Linked DNA regions of Homo sapiens: regions 1 and 3 are each linked to region 2. Evidence: promoter capture Hi-C in 16 types of primary human blood cells and fetal thymus (Javierre and others, 2016). All regions are on one chromosome and are shown on one strand. The core of a region is centred on a gene start or on the middle of the fragment in contact, and the rest is flanking DNA. Distances in the headings are between cores, read along the strand shown. Region 1 has its middle 20 kb from the start of ACKR1. Region 2 holds the start of IGSF9 (immunoglobulin superfamily member 9). Region 3 overlaps CADM3 (cell adhesion molecule 3).

Region 1 (3,175 bases), core at 511-3,010, 720 kb before region 2:
GTGCCCCTCCTCCAGAAACCTGAGGGAAAATGTAAAATACCCTTACTTCTTGTAAACTTCTTACCAGAGACATCTAACTGACTTAAATCATCACACCTCTGGCTGGCCATTCAGCCAGTCTGAGCTGTTTGTTGTTGGTGTGCTAGACATATTTCTTTTTCTTTTCTTTCCTTCTTATTTATTTATTTATTTGTTTGTTTGTTTATTTATTTTTGAGATGGAGTCTCACTCTGTCGCCCAGGCTGGAGTGCAATGGTGTGATTTTGGCTCACTGCAACCTCCACCTCCCAGGTTCAAGAGATTCTCCTGCCTCAGCCTCCCGAGTAGCTGGGACTACAGGCATGCACCACCATGCCAGGCTAATCTTTTGTATTTTTAGTAGAGATGGGGTTTCACCGTGTTGGCCAGGCTGGTCTCAAACTCTTGACCTCAGGTGATCCATCCGCCTTGGCCTCCCAAAGTGCTGGGATTACAGGCGTGAGCCACTGCACCCGGCCTGCTAGACACATTTCTATGTATCGTTCATCTGCATAGTAATTCTTGGTGCCTCATCTAGGAGGCACCTTCCTAGGAGGCATCAGAAAAGAACCCTCAGAAAAGGATGGCTCTTTGCCATACTAATAACAAGGTTAAATTGTATATAACTTTCCTGAGGGAAGAGGTCAGCTCTCTGATTTACTCCAGCTATCAAAGGAAGTCAGTGAAATACAGTAAGACAATTACTTATTGAGCATCTACTTTGTGTCAGACACTGTTGTTAGGATAAAAAATGTAAAGATGAATAAGATCTCCCCTGCTATCAAAAAGCTCACAGATATGGTGGAAACAGGTGTATAAACAGATCATTGCAACACAATGTGGTCAGCACAGTGATGGAGATATTGGTCTGCTTATTACAAGGCACAGAGTGAAGGCACTCAGCCCAGACAGAGAGGAGTGGGGGAAGACCTGCTTGTCAGAGTGGCTTCATGTCAGCAGTGATGCTGAACTAAGTCTTAAAGCTTCATAAGAACACCCTGTTGTAAATGAATGTCATCCAATTTCATTTTTATTGGAGAAATATCATTTTGGTGCAAAATGAACCCTTATTTCCGCTTACTGGGAACATGATCAGCCTTTGGGTTTAAAGGCTGGACGGGAAATTGCTAGGTAGCTGTGGTTGGCCTATGCAATCACATGTAAATAGGCTTTGGGGCAAATATCTGGTTCCCAGTAGACCAACACCCCTATTATGTAAGGAGGCTGGACTCAGTTCTTGTTGGGAGAAGTCTGAGAGGATCTCAGGGGAACACAGGAGAAAAAAAAGCTGTTAGGGTCATGAGTCCCTGAAGAAGCCATTTAAAGAGCTAGGCAGGACACTGGACCATAAGAGGTAAAGGTTGGTGGACAAGAGAGCAGGCTGCTTGGAAGCAGTGCCTACACTAGAGGATCATTCCAGCAGTGGCTTCTAGGGACAATCTTCCTAGAAGGGCAGCTGGCCAGTCAACATCTCAAGCTCTGACCATTCCTGTTCTCTAGGGACACAGTTATCACATGCAGTCCGATCTCTGCCTCAGATACGTATCAATTCTTCAGTCAATGCAATGGGTCCAGTTATATCATGGATTCTCTGATTTGACTCACTCAAGTAATGCTCCTGGACATACTAAGATTTTAGAAAATCCCTGGTCACCTAATAGGGTAGTGGAAAAATTGTTTTGAGTTCTTTTCTATCACCATCTAGTGAATAAAGAGCTAAAAAAACCTCTTCTCAGGAGCCAGACTGAAGCAACATAGAGACAGAGGGAAGTGGATACCTCTGTTACCAAAGGACAAATAGGACCTAGGCAGGTGAGCTGAGAACGGAGGTGGGCACTTCAGAGAGAGGTGAGAATGTGAGCTAGAAGAGGGAGGAAAAATATCATGGTCGAGCAGAGAATGGCAAGCAGGTCTGTATTGTCATTGCTTGAAGTGGGAGGCGGGGAGTGACAGGGGAGGCGCACAGGCAGTAGACAATGGAGAACTTTGTAGAACAAGTTAGGGAGCCTGCATTTCATCTGGTAGGCAAAGTGGACTCATATGAAAGTTCTAAGCAGAGAAATGTAATGATATAGTTTGTTTCTTAAATGTCATACATAGATCACTTTGGAGGTTCTAGAGACAAAGGACTTGGGAGAGCAAACTGGGAAGCTGCTGTAATTGGCCAGATAAGAGAGGAAGTGACCTTAACTAAAAAAGTGATGGTAGAGTTGGGGAGAAGAGGATGGATCAGAGGAATATAGAAGTAGTAAAATCAGCAGAATGTAAATCAAAGAGGGCAGAGGAAGGAGAGGATCGTCAAGGATGGTGCTTTGGGTAAAAAGGCATTTGCACAGTCTGCCACATAATGGACATTTGATAAATATTTACACAAGTACAGTTCCCTGTCGTGATGATTGCTTTTCTATTACTACTACTGAGTGTTGCTAAAATGAGAATTCTAGTTTCAGCTTACTCACTGTGTGATCTTAGGAAAGTCATACTGTCTCTTCTATAAAATGAGAAGCTTTGAGTAGATAAATTCTAAAGTCCTTCCCATCTTTGACTTTTCTGGCAAAATATTGTGGACCAATATTGGAAACATATTATAAAGCTGATGACAATGTTTTCATAGATAGAGTTACTCCAAACTTCAAACAACCAACTTAAATGAATTTTTGGAAGAACATTCTAATTTGAGGACTGCCAGTACTCTCTTACCTCATTTCCATTTTCCCCCCGCAGGTATAATTTCTTCATGAGTATAAGTCTTGCCTGTCCAAAAAAGCTTAAGAGACTATGACATATGTTTTGGGTCTCCTATAATGGTATATATGGTATAGTGCCAGGTACATTTCATCATTCAAAATTTACTTGAGTTGAATTCAATTATGTCTCTCTGCAGGGGCTTGATCCTAAATACTTCAAGTATACACTCATTCATTCTTCTCTTCAATCAGCAGATACTTATAGAGTGCATAACCAGGTGCAAACTGAATAAGACATCAACAGTTCACTCAAGGAGTGAAGAGTGTAGCAGAGTAAATAAGATGTTTATGTAGGAAGCCATAGTGTGTGCTGGGAAGTGAATGATGGTATGGACTCTTATATGGACTCTTATGGACACTATAAAGTGATGTGGCTGCTAAAAGAAGACAGTAATTACTTCCAGTGAAAA
Region 2 (3,040 bases), core at 191-2,690:
CTTAAGCCTCAGAAAGTGGTCCCCAGGACACCCCGATACAATCCCTTGTCCCATTTCCCCAGCCTCTATGAAAAACTCTGGAAGCTGAGGACCCGAGGCCTTTCTCCATTCAGTCTCCCTACACTGCTTTGGCAGTGAGTGAGTCAGGCACTTGGGAGAGGAGGAGCTGCCTCCCCCACCTGCCAGTATGGGGGATCCAGGCAGCATCCTCCAGGTCTGGACAGGTCCCGGGGCTGGCAGCTGGCGCCACTTCCTCACGATACTGCCAAGCAGCCCTCCCCCTGCCAGGCACCACCACCCAAGGACCTCACCCAAATCCCTCCCACTCACTCCCCTCCAATATCTTCGGGGTGCCAGGGTTTGTCAAGCTCTTTCTTCCCCAACCCCAGAGGCATGGTCCAAAAAAAAGCCTGTGAGTCCCTGAAGTGTACAAAATTAACCCTGGGGCATGGAGGGTAGGAGCTTCTGACAGCCCCACAGATCCTAGGGCAGTCTCAGAGAGCCAGAGGGTCCATGCCAGGGCCTGGCACTGCCAAGTGGACTCTGCTCTGAGTCCTCCAACCCACTCTTGGCCGCAAAGTTCAGGACAGACTATAAAACATCCTCCACAGAGTCTGATCCTTGCCTCTACTTAATGATCCTGTATGTCTAACTTCTGGCAATTCACTAGCAACCAAGCCCCCTGTTTCCCACTGCCTCCAGGCAGCTCTCCCACACTTCCCTGAAAAACCTTTTTCCAAGTATATAGGAACCCCCTAGTTCTCTCCTGGTTGTTTTCCGAGACTCTGAGTAACTAGGCATCCCTAGAATTCCTCCCAGTCTCTTAATATCTTTCCAACTCCCCCGGCCTCCACTATTTCCTCACCCTTCTAGTCTCCCCACACACCACTCCCTCGTCCTCCCATTACTCCCTTCCCAGTTATCGCTACTACGCACAATCCCCCCACAATTCCAGCTTCTCGCACCTGATCTCCAATTGCAGCAGGTCTCCTGCACTATAAAGAACTCCCTTCTGGTCTCCCCACCCCCCAGCCACTTCTCCCCATCCTCTCCTCCCGATAATTCCCCTCCCTGGGATTCTCCTGCATCAGCCCACAATACAATTCTGATACCCCACCCCCAACAATTCCTTTCTCCCTCGCATTCTCTGGTCCCCTGGAACTCCTCCTTTCTCTTAGAACCCACCAAGAACTCCCCCACATTGCCTCCAGAACTCCTGCAGTTCTCCGGGAACTCCCACCCACCCGCCAAGAATTCCACTTCACTCCCCAGAACTCCCCTAGTTCTACTCCTGCAACGAATTCCACTTCTCTCTAGAACTCCCCGCTTTCTCCTGTCCCCCATAACTCCGCACTACCAGCACCACCACTTCTATACCTCCAGTACGCCCCCTCCCTCACCTGCTCCGCACCGCTCGGCTCCACTCTCGCCGCTACACAATAGGGGGCGGACCCGCCTCCCCGCCTCGGATGCCCCGAGCGCCTCCCGTCGCCCTGGAGACCGCCAATCCCCCTCCCGCGGCGGCCAATTGGAGCCGCCAGAGGCACGGCGAGGCGGGCGGGACCCCTGAGCGGCCTGGGAGTTGTAGTTTCAGGAGGGAAGAGCTCGGCTGCACGTGGGCTCAGGTCGCCCCCTCGTGGACCTCTGCACAGCCAAGCGTGGAAAGGCCGGTGGGCCGCTTCCCGCCGCCAGCAAGAGGGGCAGCAGGGTCCGGCTCGCGCTCCAGGGCTGCGGGAGCTGGCCCCTTGCCAGGCTACTGGTACGCCGTCCTTCTTTCGGAACCTACGGGCGACCCTCTCCGCTCCCCGAACGGGCGCGCCACAGAGGCGGCAGCGAGGGTTGAAATCTGAGCCTGGGGGTAGGAGAACCAGGCGGGGAGCATGACTCCCCGCCCTCCTCCCAGGGGATCCACCCAGGTCCCGGGCTCATCCGATCTCCTCCCCCATCCCCATTTCTACCTCCACCCATTGCTTCTCTAGCAGGACTGGAAATACCTGTCTGCATTGGCGAGCTCCCAAATCTTGCCCAGGCGCCTCCCACCGTGTGCAGCTGAGGAAGGCTGTGCTCTGAGCGTGGGGTTGCCAAGTCAGCTCCCAAGGCAGCTCTGGCACCAACGACCCAGAGAAACAGGCCCAGAGGGGAGAAACGACAGATATCCTGACACGGGAGATTGAAAGGGAGGAATGAAATACAAGATCACTTACTGGACCCATGCAGGGTGCCAGACCCTGGACTAGATGCTTTATAACTCTTGTGTAACCTTCACAGAAACCCTGCGAAGTAAGTAGAGCTCCCTTTGACTAATGAGAAAACTGAGGCTCAGGGAGATGAAGTAACTTGGCCCAAGCTTTCCCAACTAGGTTATGGCAGAGCTGGATTGAGACCCAACCCAAACTTCATCAAACCTACTCCCTTGGAGGCTTCGCCCTCAGACACAAAGATATCTTGCATATCTTGCCCCTCAGAGATTCCACCTCCTCAGCCTGGTGATGCTGTAGGGATGCTGGGTCGGCTTAAGCAACATTGCCTGTCCAGGTCCTTCCCATTCAGTTGGCTCCCTTGGAAGCCTTCCATGAAAGCAACGTGCTGATCTCATCCCAATCCGAAGTACTAAGACTCAAACTGAGTGCACCAGGCATCAGACTCACAGAATCACTGCTGCAGCATCATGAGAGAACCTCCAGGATGGGCCTAAGCACTACTTGGCCCCAGAATCCCTGGCACATCATTTCTCCATGTAGTCATCCAAGCCCCTATCTCATTACATCCTGGGCCAGGAAGCTCAGCACTACTGTTGTACCCATTCCATCCTTAGTAAGCTCTGCCTGCTGGACAGTTCTTCCAGGTGTAAAGGTTTTAGTGCTTTTGGGTGACTGAGATGGAAGGGAAGAGGCAGGAGCAGTGGGCCAGTCTCTCCCACCATCCCTCCTGCAAATAGTCCCAAAGTAGCAGCTTTTCAACAATGCATTTCAACATAATACCCTGATCTATTGATAAGACTATAATGGAAACATGTTAATGAATGCAGCATGGAAGCAAG
Region 3 (3,313 bases), core at 125-2,624, 760 kb before region 2:
TAGGCTAGCCATTATTCATTTCTCCCCTTTCTTCATATACTCCCAAATACTGGCAAGGTAGGATGAAGAACTAGTACTTCTGACAACAGATTTTATTGGAAATATGCAGATTCTTGTTTCATATTTTACTTTTACCCTTCTATGACCTGGCGCTTTGCTTCCAATTCTGATTTCAGTAAGTATATCAATGAGAGGTAACTTGGAACTTAGCATAGCAGTCAGTCAGTCTGAAGAGCCTGGAGCTGAGTTCTTGAGTTATTATAAAATGAGAAGCCAGTTTTACCATCTGCTCCTAATCATTTTTTTTTTGCCCAGCAAATGCAAAAATTACAGTGAAACAATTGCACTCACTAGTTCTTGCTGTAGTTCTTAAGGATGAGATCTTTCCAAATACATATTATATGTTTCTTCCCATAACTTCTATCTGCTAATCTCACACAAATATAAAAATTACCACCACTAAGCCCCTGAGCCTCCCATATTTTGATTTATCCTCAATTGCCACTTAATGCCAACTCTTTTCTGGTTTCCAAGCCCTGGAGTCCAATGTCAGTGACAGATGGACTGAGCCTCAACCCTGGAGAGGAGAGGATTCTGGCCCTCTCCTGGGGAGTTTGAGCAGAAGAGAGAGCCTGAATTCTGCTTTGGGGAGAATCTCTGAGTTTAAGCCATATGGTATTCTGGAAGTAAGGGGTTCTGATTAATATGGGCATGTGAAAAGGGCTCTGTATCTGGGTCATAATAAAATCTGTGTGTTCATGTCAGAAAAAAACCCCAGAAATATGATTAGTGAGAATCAGAGTGTCTTGTGTGTGTGTATTGAGGGGCACATGTCAAAATATGCATCTATCTTAGGGAACAAAAATGTGTGTTTGCCCCCATCAAATAAGAGACACTCAATGGAGATTTAAGAAGAGAGATAAGAGTTCTTTATGTCAGAACAATATTATTTTCCATTTCGGGGACTGTGAGATCTGTGGACTTGGGAGAATGTATCTATTTCACAGAAGAGTGAAATTCTCACAAAGTGAGGCTAATGCGAACAATGTACCGCAATTTTAAAAATACAGATTTTTTTTTTTTTAAGTGAGAAGAGTGCAGGGAGACTAAATAGCAGTTAGGATTGGGGGAATCAGTGAAACTAGAGTAGTGTGGGTGTGTAGAGCAGAACACATTTTTCTTCATGTAATGCTCCTAACCATTGCCCTGAACCTGTCATCCACACCCAGACTCTGATCATCCAGTGAAGGGAAACAGTAAAAACAAGTCAGGAAAATCAGAACCAGCAGAGATGAGTGCTTTCTTGCTTGACTTCTAACAAATTAAACTTTTCCACAGCATTGTTATCCCACCACACCAAGCCATCAGCCTGTAATATCTAAAGTGCAACATAAGGAGCATAGGAGAATAAGACAGAGCCCACTGAGAAAGGGAATTCATCCATGCCCTCAGACAGGTATTGGGGCACTGGGATGGGTAGTGCAGAGTATGAGCAAGTTGTTGGAACCTGGGCTGAGATTTTTCATCTCCAGAGAATATATTCTTTACTTCTGATTTTCTGGGATTTCTGGCCCATTCCCAGTCTCTATTTTCCCATACCCTTCCAATGAGCTAAATTGAATTCTGCGTTTGACTCTGTTATGTTTCCTTTCTCAAGTACTTTCCTAAGATGAGGAACTTTTTCCCCCCAGTTTTATTACATATGTGTGAAAACAGCAAGATAAATTGGGGGAAAGGGTATAAAATCCCTCTACTTAGTTTAAGAGGACAACTAAGAGTTCAAAGTCTGGCCTCCTGACTGTATTGCATTAGAATGCAGATTTCAAGTCATACCTGTCCGTATGTCTAAAGTGTTTGATCATAGTGAGAAGGGAATGAGGAGATGGGATAAACAGACACTCCTAAAATGGCTCAGGGCTGTTATCATCCTGTCTTCAGGGGCCTACTCCAAAACAACTGAAGACAGTCAGTACCTGCACAGAATCTGTGCTCTAGAGGTCCTCACTGAGCCCTCCCCCGTGCTCAGTTTCACCTCACCCTCTCATCCTCTTCAGGCAGAACACTAGATGCTTGTCTAGAGCACACAGCCCAGTCCCAGAAGGAAGCAGCTAAGGCAAGGAAGAGACTCTTTCGGGATCAAATCCCCTCCCTTTTTGTCTCTCAACTGCAGTTCTCCTTGCTACAACTCAGTATTGGCTACAGAGGGGCTTGTTTTGGTTGGGGGCCAGCCCAGGGCTCCCTCCTGGTGCTAATGCACCAAGAACACTGACTCAATAGCAAATCAAAGCAACAGCTGTCCCCACCTCCTTCCCTGCCACCCACTTCCCAGTCTCTGCTCCTCGGAATCTTAACTAAGTCTCTGAAGGCCCCCCTCAGCCTACCACAAGCCCACTTCTGCCTCCAGATTTTTTCTCTCTCCAGCTCAAGAATAGGACATGTTCCTCTGCTTTTTTTCTTCTCTTCTCTTCTGGCCCCTGTCTCCTGCTTCACAATCAGGTTAGCATTCCCTCAGCTCTTCACCTTGCAGATGCCAGCAAGCACACAGACAGACACACACACACACACACACACACACACACGCACACACACATGCCACCTGTCCTCACAGTCACCCTTTTTAGCTCCAAAGGGCATGGCAGTGACTTCTGCCCAATGGCCTCTTCTTCTGTGTGAACTGGAACCTGCCGGTAAAGCCCTGAAGTGTAAGAAGATGCCATCCGCCCCATCTTCAGGGACTCCCTCTTCATCATAACCAAACTTCTCCAACCTACTGGGCATTTAGTAGACTTACTTCTCTTAAGGTCCACGGTCCTGGAGTTCCTCAGTATCATGCACAGGAGATGAGGCATAGGAAGAGTGGGTGTCAGCGGAAATATTTGACACTTAGTGTCAAATTAACCACTGAATTAGCCAGTCCACAAGGACTGCTATAAACTATCAATGAGTACAGGTCTCACTCACTGCCTGTGTGACCATGCTCAAGTTCCTAAACCTCTCTGAGCCTTGGTTCCTCATCTTTAAAATAAGAGGATTGGACCAGATGATACTTAATATCTTGTCAACTATAAAAATCTACACTTCTAAGAATCATAGAGGGGAGAATATTTTGGGCAGAATTAGGTGCAACAGAAAGAAAAAAGGAATTACTGAACTTGGACAATAGAGAGTCAGAAAGGGCATTAGTTCCATCCTTCTGTAAAATCAAAAGGATCTTAGAAATAACCACCTCTGACCCTTAGGATTCAGTAGGCTATGACCAGATACGCAAGTTGGCTGCAAGGTTTTAGGAACTATGTAAAATATATGTATTCAT

Evidence for each region. The method cuts DNA at HindIII sites, captures the fragments that hold promoters and counts their contacts. A CHiCAGO score of 5 or more calls a contact.
Region 1: a fragment that was not itself captured here is called in contact with the fragment with the promoter of IGSF9 in region 2 in 4 of 17 cell types (megakaryocytes, neutrophils, erythroblasts and 1 more); the score reaches 7.0 in megakaryocytes.
Region 3: a fragment that was not itself captured here is called in contact with the fragment with the promoter of IGSF9 in region 2 in 3 of 17 cell types (M2 macrophages, megakaryocytes and endothelial precursors); the score reaches 7.6 in M2 macrophages.

The regions. Positions count from the first base shown.
Region 1 is chr1:159,223,517-159,226,691 of GRCh38, forward strand. No RefSeq gene overlaps it. Among named protein-coding and RNA genes, the nearest start is that of ACKR1, 20 kb to the left of the region's middle. The HindIII fragment of the contact is 1,523 bases long and covers 1,000-2,522 here.
Region 2 is chr1:159,944,173-159,947,212 of GRCh38, forward strand. It overlaps IGSF9 (immunoglobulin superfamily member 9), which reads right to left and starts at 1,441. Exons shown (of 21, transcript NM_001135050.2): 1 at 1,401-1,441. LOC124904438 (a long non-coding RNA gene) reads left to right here. Exons shown (of 3, transcript XR_007066684.1): 2 at 1,980-2,280. RefSeq lists a silencer at 1,427-1,721 and an enhancer at 1,564-2,064. The HindIII fragment of the contact is 10,806 bases long and covers 1-2,345 here.
Region 3 is chr1:159,179,509-159,182,821 of GRCh38, forward strand. All of the region lies in intron 1 of CADM3 (cell adhesion molecule 3), which reads left to right. Among named protein-coding and RNA genes, the nearest start is that of CADM3, 9.6 kb to the left of the region's middle. The HindIII fragment of the contact is 4,108 bases long and covers 1-3,313 here.